2 separate regions of the Homo sapiens genome follow, and region 2 is linked to region 1. The links are contacts of gene promoters, found by promoter capture Hi-C in human tissues and cell types (Jung and others, 2019). All regions are on one chromosome and are shown on one strand. Each heading gives the region's core, a stretch centred on a gene start or on the middle of the fragment in contact. The rest is flanking DNA. Distances are from core to core; before and after follow the strand shown.

Evidence for each region. Contacts are between HindIII fragments. The study calls those that stand out against the background at their distance.
Region 2: the fragment with the promoter of CACNG8 here is called in contact with a fragment that was not itself captured in region 1 in 1 of the 25 tissues and cell types used here (liver).

The regions. Positions count from the first base shown.
Region 1 is chr19:53,426,580-53,433,831 of GRCh38, reverse strand. It overlaps ZNF765-ZNF761 (ZNF765-ZNF761 readthrough), which reads right to left. Exons shown (of 13, transcript NM_001350496.2): 8 at 6,896-7,084; 9 at 6,613-6,745. It overlaps ZNF761 (zinc finger protein 761), which reads right to left and starts at 1,848. Exons shown (of 5, transcript NM_001289951.2): 1 at 1,804-1,848. It also overlaps a transcript of ZNF765 not described here and the pseudogene TPM3P9. RefSeq lists a silencer at 1,892-1,971. The HindIII fragment of the contact is 5,404 bases long and covers 1-3,952 here.
Region 2 is chr19:53,960,190-53,967,441 of GRCh38, reverse strand. CACNG8 (calcium voltage-gated channel auxiliary subunit gamma 8) reads right to left here and starts at 4,505. Exons shown (of 4, transcript NM_031895.6): 1 at 4,017-4,505. The coding sequence starts at 4,299. RefSeq lists enhancers at 5,144-5,664, 6,475-7,252. The HindIII fragment of the contact is 7,710 bases long and covers 297-7,252 here.

The DNA.
Region 1 (7,252 bases), core at 1-2,500:
CCTCCTTCAGTAGATTCAAAACCTTAATAGGAGTAGTTCTAGCCATACTAAGAATTGGTTTGATACTCCCTTACCTCTTACCTCTCCGTGTTAAGAGCATTCAATCAACTATAGAAGCAATTGCGACCAGGCAGACTACCACTCAGCTAATAGCCCGATATAAATATCAGCCAGTGCTCTTTCATGAAGAATCCAGTAATAGTGATGTCTTCTAGTAAAATCTTGTTCATAAAAGGCATCTAAGGGAGAAAACTGAGGCAGAAAGTTAAAAAACAAACATGCATTCATTCACTCCAAGAAAAGTAACAGGCAAGGCAAGGGTTAAAAAGAAAAGAAGAACAAGTTTTCCTCTGCCTAGCAAGCTCGACTTGGCGAAGTCGAAGCCAAAGAAATGGGCTCCAGACAGCCCCCCACCTTCCCAGAACAAGAGTGAAGAAAAAAAAAAAAAGGACAAATGTGTGTATTTAGCTGTTCTTGTTTTTCTTTCAACTCAGCTACGAGGCCACCAGCTATGGAAGGACACAAGTTATGCTATGCTATAGATTACATGACCTATCATTATATGATTAACTGCTTTTATTCTGCTTCTGAAAGCAAAAAACCCCACTCCGTCTTTGTTGAAATGCTCAGCTTTTTAGATGTAAATCCACTGAGCCGGTGCGTATCTTAAATAAACATCCTTTTGTCTCCCCCATATCAGTCTGTCTAGTCCTCAGTTTCCCGCAACACCATCTCTGCGCCTCCTTTGCTCTCCCCGTTAAATTCTCTCTTCCCTGTTATACCCCCCTGTCCCCACTCTCTAGCACCCCAGATCCCCAGGTGTCCTCCCTGCTGTGCTTCTCCCTCTGTTCTCCTTGCCACCAGCACCACTCTGCTCTGTCTGCCCTGGCTCCAAATCCCTCCTCCTCTCCCTCACCCTGATGAGCCTCCCTCTTTGCTGTCCCTCTCCCTACCTTGCTGTCCTTCATCTCTCTGTACATCCAGCTTTTCTCTACATTTCTGCACTTGCTTTTCTCCTCCTGCTTTCTTATCGTTTTCTTTTCACTTTTGCTGTCTCTTGGCAAATCCCTCACCCATCCTCTACTTTGCCATCTGTTATAGGTCTTTCTCATTCTTCTTTTCTGTCTCAGGTTTTCCACTGCTCTCTGTCCGTCTCCTGATCCCTTTGGCCCACACAGTCACAGGAGGGTTTGGAGTAAGACGCCTGCATCCCGGGGGAGCGCATTTTCCAGGGGCTGGAGCTGGGCAGGCAGTAACACCCCGCGTCACAGGACAGGCCCCGGGCACCTCCCCAACGCGGGCTCAGGGGAAGCGGTGATTGTGGAGGCGAAACCCGTGGAGCAGCAGGGCCCGGCACAAGGAGGGAGGTGAAGGGGCGACAGCACCTTAAGGCAAGGGTGGGGTCTGCAGGATCCTAGGACCAGGCAGAGGACGCGGCCTTTCCGGGACTGGGGCAGCGGCGCTGGGCTCCAGGGGCCGACAAAGGCGAGAATCCACCTCTCAGGTGAGGACTTTAAAAAGCGCGGGGCGGGAGGAGTCAGAAAAAGGTTTACAGCAGGAAAACTACAGGTTAGAAAGTGTATACATTGCCCTGTAGCAGAAACACCCGGGACGGGACCAGCCTCAGGGGGACCTTAAACCCAAAAGGAACCGACCCACGGCCTCTCACGAGGTCGTCTCAATTTGCTCTGAGTGAAGGAAGACGGCTGAGAATTTCCAGGTTTGTGGGGATCCCAAGTCCCAGGTACAGAAGCGCCAGGAACCTGGAAGAGCAGACTTAATACAAGACAGGGCGAAACTCACGCGCCGCGGTGGCACCGTCACTCCACGCTATCCGCTTCCTGGTCTGCACGAATCTGCGCGCGCAGAGCAGAAGCCAGGCCTGGGCGGGACCCGCAAGGAGGTGGGCGGGGCCTGGACGAGGCAGGGGCGGGGCGCGAGGCGGAGAGACCTTGCGCTTTAGAGCCGGCAGAGGGCGGGGCCGGGGCGTGACCGGTGCTCCTCTCAGCTTCTCTCCTAGCACCTGTTTTCGGGTGGTGAAGGTGAGACCGCCCAGGAAGGCTGACGCATGGACTCAAAAGCCCTGGAATTGTCTGGAACGGGATACAAACTAGAATGTAAAATGCAAGGCCCTGCCTGGGCGGAACGTACGATTTCATGCTGACGGCCCACAGAACAGAACAGAAATCCTCTCCCTTTCTATTCTCCACTCACTCAGGAGGGAGAGTCCACCCCGTGCTCAGCTGCAGAGACTTCCCTAGGGCCTCCCCCTGGGATGCGGGACGGAATGCTCAGGCCAGCCAGGGGCGACCTGCTGGATAAACACAGCAAGGATTCAGGCGCGGGGGCGGGAGCCTGAGTTCCCAGCTACTCAGGAAGCAGCGGCGAGAGGATCGCTGAGCCTGGGGGTCCAGGCCAGCCTGGGCGACAAAGTAACACCCCTCCCTCAGGACTCCCTCCCTCGTCTCTCTCTCTTTTTTTCTCCATTTTTTAACGTTAAAATAAAATTTTGATTGTGTGAGATAGGGATACATTATTCTTTTCCATGTGGATATCCAGTTAGTTGTCCCAGCACATTTGTAGAAGAGATCTATTACTTTCTTTTATTTATTTACTTATTTCTTTTCTTTTATTTTGAGACAGAGCATTTCTCTGTCGCCCAGGCTGGAGTGCAGTGGCAGGAACTGGGCTCACTGCAGCCTCTGCCTCCTGGGTTCAAGCGATTCCCCTGCCTCAGCCTCCGGAGTACCTGCCATTACAGGCGCGTGCCACCATGCCCGGCTAATTTTTGTATTTTTGTAGGTGGGTTCCCCATGTTGGCCAGCTGGTCTCAACCTCCTGACTTCAAGTGATCCACCTGCCTCGGCCTCCCAAAGTACTGGGATTACAGGCGTGAGCCACTGTGCCTGGCCCCCCCAAAATACTTTTTACTTCACTGTCTAATTGTTGAGAAAATATAATTGAAAACAAACAAAAAGTCTTTCTCCAAATGAGAAATCATCTCCACGATGATCATAGAGAAAGAAATTAAAACCATTTCATTAATAAATAAGCCTTAGACCAGATTGTGATGCGAAATACAGGCAAACAGCTAAGAGGTTGAAAAAAGAGAAAGAAACTTTACTGTTCTATACAACCCATTAAGGACATGTTTTCAAGATAAACGCTAATCAGTCCTCAGGGAAGAGGACTTGACAACACTCTTGGTCACACATAGTTCATCCTGACTCTACTTGGTAATGGAGGTGACCATCTGTGTCAGCTAATTAGCTTCATTCTGAGGGACGGGGAGTAACACTAACCCATGTCTTTCTGACAAGTGTGAGTTTTACAACATAGCGACAGGTGCCCTCTCTGGTGAGGCTCCTACAGTCTGACAGAAACTGATATCAGCAGTAAATAATAAAATTTAGAATATATGATTAAGCACAGAGTTTATTTGAACACAAAGCATGAGGATAGCCACCTGGAAACATCAACTCCAAATGAATGGGATCAGCGTTCCCTTAGGTTTCACACACACGGAAAGACAGAGAAGCTTTAGAAGAATCACCACATTTTCCATTCAAGACCAGTACATAGGGTGCAGCAAGGTGATTGGTTATGGATTGATATACTTCAAGGAAGGTTACTTTATCACTCAATATAAAGGGACAATGATCCCAGGAGGTCTTATCTCTGGGGCTGCTTAGTCTTTTTAATTATTTACAGGAAAATTCTCTCTCTCTTTTTTTTTTTTTTTGGACGTAGTCTTGCTCTCTCACCCAGGCTGGAGTGCAGAGGCATGATGTCAGCTCACTGCAACCTACACCTCTCAGATTCAAGCAGTTCTCCTGCCTCAGCCTCCCAAGTAGCTGGGATTACAGGCATCCACCACCACATCTGGCTAATGTTTGCATTTTTAGTTGAGACAGGGTTTCACCATGTTAGCCAGGCTGGTCTTGAACTCTTGACCTCCGGTGATCTGCTCACCTCAGCCTCCGAAAATGCTGGAATTACAGGCGTGAGCCACCGTGCCCAGCCTATAAGTGGCTTTTTTACAGCGAATGCTATGCAAAACTTCTCATCAGTCATCATCATATTCAATAGCATTGCTTTTATCATATCACGGAAACCATTATTCTCATTTGGAACAGTCTGCCATCAACCTTCACAAATGCATATGGAAGCCCTCATGCTGGACTTCTCCTCACCCTAGAATCACCTGGGGGCAGGGTAGTTAATTGAAACAGCATGGATGTTTCCCCCGACACCAATAGACAGACGCTATGGGGAGGGCACAGGTGATGGTAGTAACTGAATATGACCATTTGATCCAACTGGAAGCCTGGGCTGAGAGCCTCTTAGCTAAGCACTGACTCTCAAGCTTTAAGGTGAATATAAGTCATCTGGCACTCCACAACCCACTGTAATAATGTTTGATTCTGCAGGTTTGAGGTAGCATTTATAAATTGGCATCTTTAACAAGTTCCCTGTTAATGCCAATGTTTCTCCCCTCGGACCCATTGTCAGAAGCACTGAGCTACAGAAGGCATGCCCTGCACACCAGAGCCCCTTCCACCCAAATATCTGCTCTCAGCACAGATACTGTTGGTTCCCAGGGGAGACCATAAATCACAGTCTTGAAAAGTCACTTTCTCTTTTTTTTTTCTTTCTTTTTTTCAGATGGAGTCTCGCTCTGTCGTCCAAAGTGCTGGGATTACAGGCTTGAGCCACCGCGACTGGCCTGATAGGAGGTGTTTAAAAGGAGCTTCAAAAGAGGTCAGTGCTCTACACTGAACGAAGGATGGAGGGTAATGGTAATGCCTCCACATTAAAATGACACAAATGCTGCTGTCTTACTGAAGTTTGGTACTTTCTGTGGGATAGATACTTTTCACTTTGTTCTGTGGCTTTGGTAAATTTCAGAAGTCTGAAATGATTGATTTTAGTGACTTTGCGAGTGTTTTCATCATTTTGCAGAGGAGACTTGGTTTCTTGTGGTTTGCATTCATCAGTGTCAGAAGCTGATCTCTCTATTCAATCTTGCAGTTTTAAGTAATGCATTGAACAGTCACATAACAGAACGCTGAGCAGGAGAACTAAATTTCTAGTGTAATCAGAATGGCAGGCACTAAATGAATTATTTTACAATAAGCCTGTGTCCTTTTTATTAACTGTTCAGTGGAGAAGTTTGGAGTCTATAAACTTGTAATAAATGTGGCCTGTAAGAACTACAAATACTGGAAAGCTCTGAGGATGTAATTTCTAATTTGATGAAGAAAACATTCTCTTTAATTAACTTGGCAAGGAGAAGGCTTCAATAAAAAGAAAGGCAACTATGCCTGGGGCGGAGCTGGAGTGGAAATAAGATGGCAGACATTGGACGTCATTGAAGGCCTGGTGATGTGGTTTTAGTCCATGTGCCAAGAGCAAAAAGTTATTTAAAATATATTAGTTAGGGCCGGGTGCAGCGGCTCATGCCTATAATCCCAGCACCTTGGGAGACCAAGGGCGGGTGGATCATATGACGTCCGGAGTTCAAGACCAGCCTGACCCATGTGGTGAAACCGCATCTCTAATAAAAATACAAAAAAATTAGCTAGTGGTGGTGGCATGTGCCTGTAATCCCAGCAACCTGGGAGGCTGAGGAAGGAGAATCACTTGAACCTGGGAGGCAGAGGTTGCAGTGAGCTGAGATCATGCCACTGCACTCCAGCCTGGGTGACAGAGCAGGACTCCATCTCAAAAAAAAAAAAAAGAGTAAAAATATATTAGTTATTGGGGAATATCAGCATATATAAATGTGTCTTCAGGTAAAAGTGACAATAACCTGGATACAGACACATGGAAATAGGAAATTTTTTCAGGTGTTCAAGAGGGAGCAGTGAAATGTAACTTAGTGATATTGGGGCATGATAATGGGAGAAAATATTTCAAACCATATATACCATACCTGTGATAAGGAGTTTATATCCAAAATATATAAGGAACACTCACAACTCAAAAGCAAATATGGTAATAGTAATAACCCTATTAAAAAAGAGCAAAGGGGCTGGGCGTGGTGGCTCACACCTGTAATCCCAACAATTTGGGAGGCTGGGCAAAGTGGATCACCTGAGATCAGGGGGTCGAGACCAGCCTGGCCAAGATGGTGAAACCTCATCTCTACTAAAATACAAAAGTTAGCCGGGCGTGGTGGCTAATCACGCCTCCCCGGAAGGCGGAGGTTGCAGTGAGCCGAGATCGTGCCATCGCACTCCAGCCTGGGCAACAGAGTGAGAATCCATCTCAAAAACAACAACAACAACAAAAAAAAGTAAAGGGCCTGAATAGACTAATCATCTGGAAAATGCCAATCAAAATCACAGTGAGGTATCACTTCACATGTCTTAGGATTGCTATTATTAAAAAGACAAAAGGTAACAAGTGGTGAGGATGCGGAGGAAAAAAAATACCCCTGTACGTTGTTGTTGGGACAGTCAATTGGTAGAGCAATTATTTTTCTTAAAAATTCTAAAAAACATGGAGTTGCCTTACAAGTTATAATTTAATTTTACTCAAAACAATATGAGAATTAAAATTCTTTTTAATTTTAAAAATCAAAATGACCAAACAATCCAGCAATCCTACCTCTGAGTATGCGTCTGAAGGAAATGGGTATTTCCAAGAGCTATCTGCACTGCCACGCTTGCTGCAGTGTTATTCGCATCAGCCAAGGCACGTCAGCCGTATGAGGGTCCTTCATGATGCACGGATAAACACACTGTGAGACAGACAGACAGACTTCTCAGCGGCTGAGAGGGTTTTAGAGATCCTGACACCCAGAGAGGAACTGGGGACAGAAGAGGATGCAGCTTTCCATTACCAAAGCTGAGGAGGTCCGGAAGGAAGAGGAGAGGCCAGTGGGGCTCACCTGCAGGAGCCTGCTGAGACTCCGGAGCATGGTCCGTGGGAACGATTCTGATGCTTCTCAACCACGTGCTTCCTTAGCAGAGAACTGTCTAGATTAGCGGTTCCCAGTGTTTTTGGCACCAGGGACTGGTTTAGTGGAAGGCAGTTTTTCCACAGATGGGGGGATGGTTTCAGGATTAAACTGTTCCACCTGAGATCATCAGGCATTAGTTTGATCTCATAAAGAGCATGCAACCCAGATCCCTCGCATGCACAGTTCACAGTAGGGTTGGCATTCCTCTGAGATGCAGTGGCGCTGCTGATCTCACAGAAGGCAGAGCTCAGGTGGTCACGCGCACTCACCCACTGCTCACCTCCT
Region 2 (7,252 bases), core at 3,256-5,755, 530 kb before region 1:
AGCCTGAAATCTTTACTATATGGCACTTTATAGGACCTTCACTGTGCTGACCTCTGTCCAGATGTTATCTGTTAATGGGCATCGTAAATTTAACATGCCCAAAACTGAGCCCATGGTCCCTCTCCTTCATAATAAATTTGATAAGAGAAAATAAATAAAACAGCTGCTGTTTCATCTTATGAATGGCTCCCCTATTCTCAGGAGCTCAGGCCAAAGCCTTAGAGCGGTGATTCTCAACTCAGGGCGATTTTATCCCCCAGGAGACAGCTGACAATGTTTAGACACAATTTACAATTTTGGTTGTCACGACTGGGAAGGGCGCTGCTGGCATCCTAGTAGGAGAGATCAAGGCTGTTGCTCAGCATCCTACAATGCATAGGACGGCCCCTCCACACAGAATTATCCACCCCAAAATATCAACCATGCTGCGGTGGAAAAACCCTGCTTTGGAGACGCCCCTGGCTCTTCTCTCTCATATCCTACAACTGCTCCATCAGCAACTCCTGCCCACGGTAGCTCCAGAATATACTCAAAATTCAAACAACTTCCCAAACCCTGCTGCCCCCACCCTAGATGAGCCTCTCGTTGTCTCATTTGCCTTCCCCTCGGTCATTTGTTAACACAGCAGCAAGAAACATACCGCAAAAATGTAAGTCAGCTCGTGTGACTCCTCTGCTCAAGAACCTTCAACGGCTCCCATCTCCGAATCTAAAGCAAAGTGCTTTCTGGGATGTATAAGAAGCCGTGAGGCCGGGTGCAGTGGCTGACATCTGTAATCCCAACACATCGGGAGGCTGAGGCCGGAGGATTGCTTGAGCCCAGGAGTTTGAGACCAGCCTGGGCAATATAGTGAGACCCTGTGTCTACAAAAAATGGGGGCATGTGCCTGTAGTTCTAGCTATTTGGGAGGCTGAGGCAAGAGGACGGCTTGGGTTCAGGGGTTCAAGGCTGCAGTGAGCTATGGTCTTACCACTGCACGCCAGCCTGGGTGACAGAGCAAAACCCTGCCTAAAAACAAAAAAAGAAAAACAAAACAAAAACAAACACAGAAGCTGGCCAGGCATGGTGGCTCACATCTGTAATCCCAGCACTTTGGGAGGCCTAGGCGGGCCAATCACTTGAGGTCAGAAGTTCGAGACCAGCCTGGCCAACATGGTAAAACCCTGTCTCTACTAAAAATACAAAAATTAGCCGGGCATGGTGGCACACACCTGTGATTCCAGCTACTCGGGAGGCTGAGGTATGAGAATCGCTTGAACCCAGGAGGCCGAAGTTGCAGTAAGCCAAGATCACGCCACTGCACTACAGCTTGGGTGACAAAGCAAGACTCTGTTTCAATAAATAAATAAATAAATAAATAATTTTTAAAAAACAGAACCTGTGGGATGGGGACCCTGATACCCCTACGACTGCACCTCTTACTCCTACGTTCTCCGCCACCCACTCTGCCCCGGCCACGCTGACCTCACACTGGCTTGATCAACACACAGCCACACTCCCACCTCAGGGCCTCTGCGCCTGCTATTCCTACAGTCTGAAGCACTTTCCTCCATCTCTTACTTCCTTCAGACCTGTGATCAAATGTCACCTGCTCGGGGAAGCTTTTCCTAGATTCCTTATCTACTTCCCACGGGGATCCCTGACCCCTCCCATCCCCTCCCCCAACTCCTTGTCCTCCTTAGCACTCAGTTCTATCTAACACCCTAAAGGTTGACTTTACCTCCATCATTATCTGTCTCTCCCTTAGAATATAAGATATATAACGACAGGAGGTTTTGTCTGTTTGTTTTCCACTGCTGCAGCCCCAGAATCCAGAACAATGCCTGGCACATAATATAAACTCAATAAAAATGGGACGTTGAATGAACGAATGAATGAATGAATGACATCCCTACTAGATGCCACGTGCTGTCCTAGGGCTCCCATGATGGGAGCCCTCACACTTGGCTCTATGCCTGGTACTTGGTCAGACCAGTGAATGGACATGAACTCAAACTTCCACAGGAGAGGCAAAGAACATCACGAGAGCCGTGGGAGGAATGGGAGGCGAGACGGAGCAGATGGAGGTGACTGTGGGGAAGTGGAGACCCCCCAGCTGCTGCTCAGATCCGGCCCATCGTGGTCAGGGTAGAACACAGGCTTGTGCTAGATCTTCCGCCAGCTCAGAAGAAGCCGGAAATCAGAACTACAATGGGAAGCCTCCCTATTTTTAACTGTTGGCAATGGATTCAGATTTTGCTTTCAGTTTTAAACACTTTGTACACTAGACAGAGCGCATCTGTGAATCCCATCCATGAGATTCGAGTTCTGCTCTTGGCTCGGCCCCTTTCTCAGCTAGGTGACCTTGGGCAAGTGACTTCACTTCTCTGAGCCTCAGTTTACCCATCCCCAACAGCGAGGTGGTGCCCACCTCATAGGATTAAACGAGATAACGTTCCCGGCTTGTCGTGAACACTCAGCAAAACAGAGGAAGAAGGGGCAGAGGAAATAGAGGGGGATGAAAAAGAGAAGCAAGAGATTTCAATCTTTTGGCCGAAGGGGGCATCAGGATGGCTGGTTCCACTCCTTCACGTTGCAGACAAGGGCTGTGAGGCTGGGGTGCAGGAGGGAAGACAGTGGTCACACAGCAGGGCAGATATGCAGCAGAACTGGCACCCAAGACTCCTGCTTCCCAGCCCCGCAGCTACTTGATACTCAGGAAAGAAATACTGATGCTAAGAGTGGGAGAGAGAAGGGGTTGGCACAGCAGAGGGCAGGAGTCTTGGAGAAGTGGGGAAGTCGAGAGCCAGGGAGCCGAGCTAGGAGAGAAGCTGTGAGAGGGAGAACAGGACAGAGGAAAAGAACCAAGTCGAAGATCCGAGGAGGTAGCAGGGGCAGGAGCGAGAAGCCTTAACGTGAAGGCCTGAGGCATCGAGTCAGGAAGACGTCGAAGGAGGCATGAGTGGAGGAAGAGGAAGTGGAGTCCACTAAAGGAAAAAGGAGGAAAGGACCAGGATGGGAGGTTGGAGGGCACCCTGGTGGGAGAGACATGGGTGGGGGCACTGATGGGAAGAGAAAGATGAACAGGAGGAGAAGCACAAGGCAGAAAAGAGAGAAAGTCATGAGTGAGGGCGAGTTAAGGCACGAAGTTTCAGGGGAGCAGCAGCCAAAGAGAAGGGGAAAGAGACAGACCGGAAGACTGGGCCGTGAAAGGGGGCGGGAGAGGCAGGGGACTTCAGAGGACTGGGGGGGAAATGTCGGGAGAGAGAAGATGTCACGGGGCACGAGGGAGAGGAAATGAAGGGGCAGGTGGAGCGGAGGAGCAGGGTCAAGATGAACTGACGGGAAAGAGGGAGAAAGAGGCTGCTGGGTGCAGTGGCTCATGCCCTTCATCCCAGCACTTTGGAGGCCAAGGCAGGAGGATCTCTTGAGCTCAGGAGCTCGAGACCAGCCTGGGCAACAGGAGACCTCATCTCTACAAATAATAAAAAAAATTAGCTGGGCACAGTGGCTCATGCCTGTGGTCCCAGCTACTCAGGAGGCAGAGGTGGGAGGATGGCTTGAGCCTAGGGATTCGAGGCTGCAGTGAGCTGTGATTGTGCCACCGTACTCCAGCCTGGGCGACAGAGTGAGACCTTGTCAAAAAAAAAAAAAAAAAGAGAAAAGGCACAGGGCAGAGTGGAAGAAATGAAACAGGAGGAGCCCCAGGTACTGGAGAGAGGGAAGATGCAGGGGTGTGATGGGGCAGCGCAGGAGACACGGACTAGGGAAAGATAGGATAAGGGGGTTCAGCGGAGAGGCAGAGGGGCTGCAGAGGGAGCATGCCGAGGAATTCCGCAGGGTGCCAGGACGCAGGGAGGAGTGGGAAGGAGGGGAGAGGAGGTCAGGGGCGCGAGTGGGAAGGCGCAGAAGCCCCTCTGGCAGAGGAGGAGGGGTGCCCAAGGGGGCCCCAGGATCAGGGACAGGCAGCCCCGGGAGGCTCAGGGTCTCTCGGAGGGGAGCGGCGGGGGCTGCGGGGAGGGCCGCCCGCACCCTACCTTCCAGGCAGCAGATCCTCCAGAGGCCCGAGTGCGTGAGGCCGCCGGGGTCCTTCTTCTCCGAGGCGCCGCCGCCCCCGCGGTGGGGGGTCCCGTCGTCGCCGCCGGCCGTGAGGTTGGTGGTGTTGCAGATGAGGGCGCGCGTGTAGAGCCAGTAGTCAGTGCTGATGGCGATGGTCATGAGGCCGAAGGCGGCGAAGGCGCCCACCGTCGTCAGCAGCACCTGCACCCCCTTCTCGCACCAGAGGCCCCGCTCTTCGTTCCAGCGCTTCAGCGACTCCAGTTTGACCACGGGCAGCCGGGGGGCCGTGGGCCACCACCGGGGCAGCGGGGGCGGGGCCGTGCCGGCGGCTGGGGGGGGGTTCACAGCGCAGGCAGAAGCGGGGGGCCCGGGGCCGGCGGGGCTGGGGAGGGGGGCGGCGAGGAGGAGGCTGCGGCCGGGGAGGGGGTCAGAGCGCGGCCATGGTCGGCGGCTGGTGGAGGGCAAGGAGCGAGATCTCGCATTAGAGGAGAAGAAGGCACAGGTACCTCCCCCAGTCCCCGCCCCCCCCCCCCCAAAATCCCTGCCTCAGCTCCAGAAACTCCTTCCACTCGGGGCTCCACTGCTTCTCTTTCTCAAAAATAATAATAATAATAATAATAATAATAATAATTAATAAATAAGATGAAATCTCTCTCCACTCTTGTCTTCTGCCCAAGAAAGTCATCCCACCATCCCACTAACCCCACTCGGAGGAGTCCCCACCACCGCTAATAATTAATAAATAAGATGAAATCTCTCTCCACTCCTGTCTTCTGCCCAAGAAAGTCGTCCCACCATCCCACTAACCCCACTCGGAGGAGTCCCCACCACCGCTAATAATTAATAAATAAGATGAAATCTCTCTCCACTCCTGTCTTCTGCCCAAGAAAGTCGTCCCACCATCCCACTAACCCCACTCGGAGGAGTCCCCACCACCGCTAATAATTAATAAATAAGATGAAATCTCTCTCCACTCCTGTCTTCTGCCCAAGAAAGTCGTCCCACCATCCCACTAACCCCACTCGGAGGAGTCCCCACCACCGCTCACACTCACAGCCCTCGCCCCTAGCCCGCGCCGCCTCCGCCCCAGGGGGCTCCACGATCCTCATCGCATGGGAAGCCACCCCCCGCCATGATGCCAAGCCCCACGCCGCCGCCTCCTCCCCAGGAGCCCCCGTCGCGTTCTTCCTTCCTTAGCGACCCCCGCCCCATCACCATGCGGCGCCCACCAGCTCTCCCCACTCTTCCCCTGCAAGCCCCACCTCTCCACCCGCTAGAACCCTTCCCTGTCAGCCCAACTTTTCCCTGAGCGTCTCCACAACTTAAGAAGCCCGAGTAGCACCACTTCCGTGGGAGTAACCTCCGCGAGCCCCCTCCGGTCTGGCTTTTGTCATTCCATCACTCCAAATGGTCCCCCACAGTTTCCTCTCCTTAGGAAAAAATAAATCTCTCAACCTCTCTTCAACTAAAAAGGAAAAATTAAAAGAAGAAGAAAAAGAAAAAGAAAATCCCAGCTGACCCTCACAGTTTGTGCAACTCGGAATCACCAGCCACCCTCAGTCAGCCTCCTCTCCCTGGAAGCCCCCTTCCTGCCTCGGGCAGCCTCCAACACACCTGGAAATCACCCGAGGACCTTAAAAATTCGGATGTTTGAGTCCCACCTGAGAAAGTCCGACATGGTTGGTCTGCAGTGTGGCCTGCGCATGTAAGTTTTTAAAAGCTCCCTGGGGAATTCTAATGCACCCAACATCAGACCCACTGGTTTGCAAGCTGCCCCCCCCCCGCCATCTCCAGCCCATTCCCTGTCACAGCCCCCACTGTCTCCCCACAAGCCACTCACTCCCCACCCCATACTATGCCTTTACTCCAGGAAAACCCCCACCCTCTCTTTTGCTTTAGAAGAGTTTTCTGAATCTTCCCACCCCGCCACCCCCCCCCCCACAACTTAAACGAACTCATATCATAACCATCGTTTTCTCCTCCATTAAGAAAAATTTCCTCCGTGAGTTCCACGGCATTTTCTACTCGCAAGAATGGCTTCCTCCAGACCCCAAATGTCTCTCCACTCAGGACCATTCCAATCTCTGCCCTGTACTCCCATAGCAGGGGGCACACTGTACCACCCACCCGCCCCTCTGCACTCACAGCAGCTCCCACTGCCTCCAAATCCCCTCCTCGTAGCCCTTCATCATCACACGGGATCTTCAGCACACTGTTTCCCCCAACTTGAGATCCCCCTAACTCACTTTGAAGCCCACTCTCTCTTCAATGTACCAGGAAGCATCCTCCCCAACTTCTCTCTCATCATATAGAATTCCCTTGACTCACTTCCTCTTGCTCCACCGCTATAGCTCCCAGGTTCTCCTCTGCCCCGGAAAATCCCCTCCGCAGGCCCCCACAGGCTTCCCTTCTTGGGAACGCCCCCCAGTACTCCCCTCTACGACTTCACCTGTACAGGAACACACACTGTAGCCCCTCATCTTCTTCCACATGCAGAAAGAGCCCCCCCAGTAGACTGTGTCCCTCTGAAAAATGTGATCCGCAAGACTACAACTCTCTTTTCAATTAGGAATACTTTCCCAGCCTGCACCCGCTGCCCCGTGGCTCCTTCATTTCTCTCTTCCACATTCTCCCCCGACCACCATGCCCCCAGCCCTGCCTGTCTCCCCCACCCCAACTGTCCTCTGGGGGATGTACTCCTTACTTGCTTCCACACTGCTTCTTCAACTTCTTCCCCCAAACCCACTATAGTTAAGAGCCTGGAAACCTTAGACGAAGAGGGGATTAAAAAAAAACAAAACAAAAACCAGAACCTAGGTCCCAGTACAGGGTGACCTTGGCCTCCTGATTGCTTGCCCGTCTCCACTGCCCCCCATCAGCTGGCCTCAGACTGGGGCTGCTCCGAGGAGGGGCTGTGGAAAAAGGTTGTCTATGGGGGGTGTCTCCATGGCAACTGGGCCTAGTGCCCCACACGTTGTGTTCCCTCCCCCACCTCAACTCCCGTCTGCCCACACACAGCCCTTCCTCAGGCCACAGTTCAGCAGCCCGCTGGACAGGGCAACCCCCAGCCTCCCGGCCTGGGCGCCGGCCCCTTCCTCTCTTTTCTGTCCGCATGCTGAGTTTCCTCTCTTCTTGATCTCTTGGCCTCTTCTCCCCGAATTGGTGCCCCTCACCACCAGCAGGGCCACCTACCCTGTCTTAACAGATATCTGCT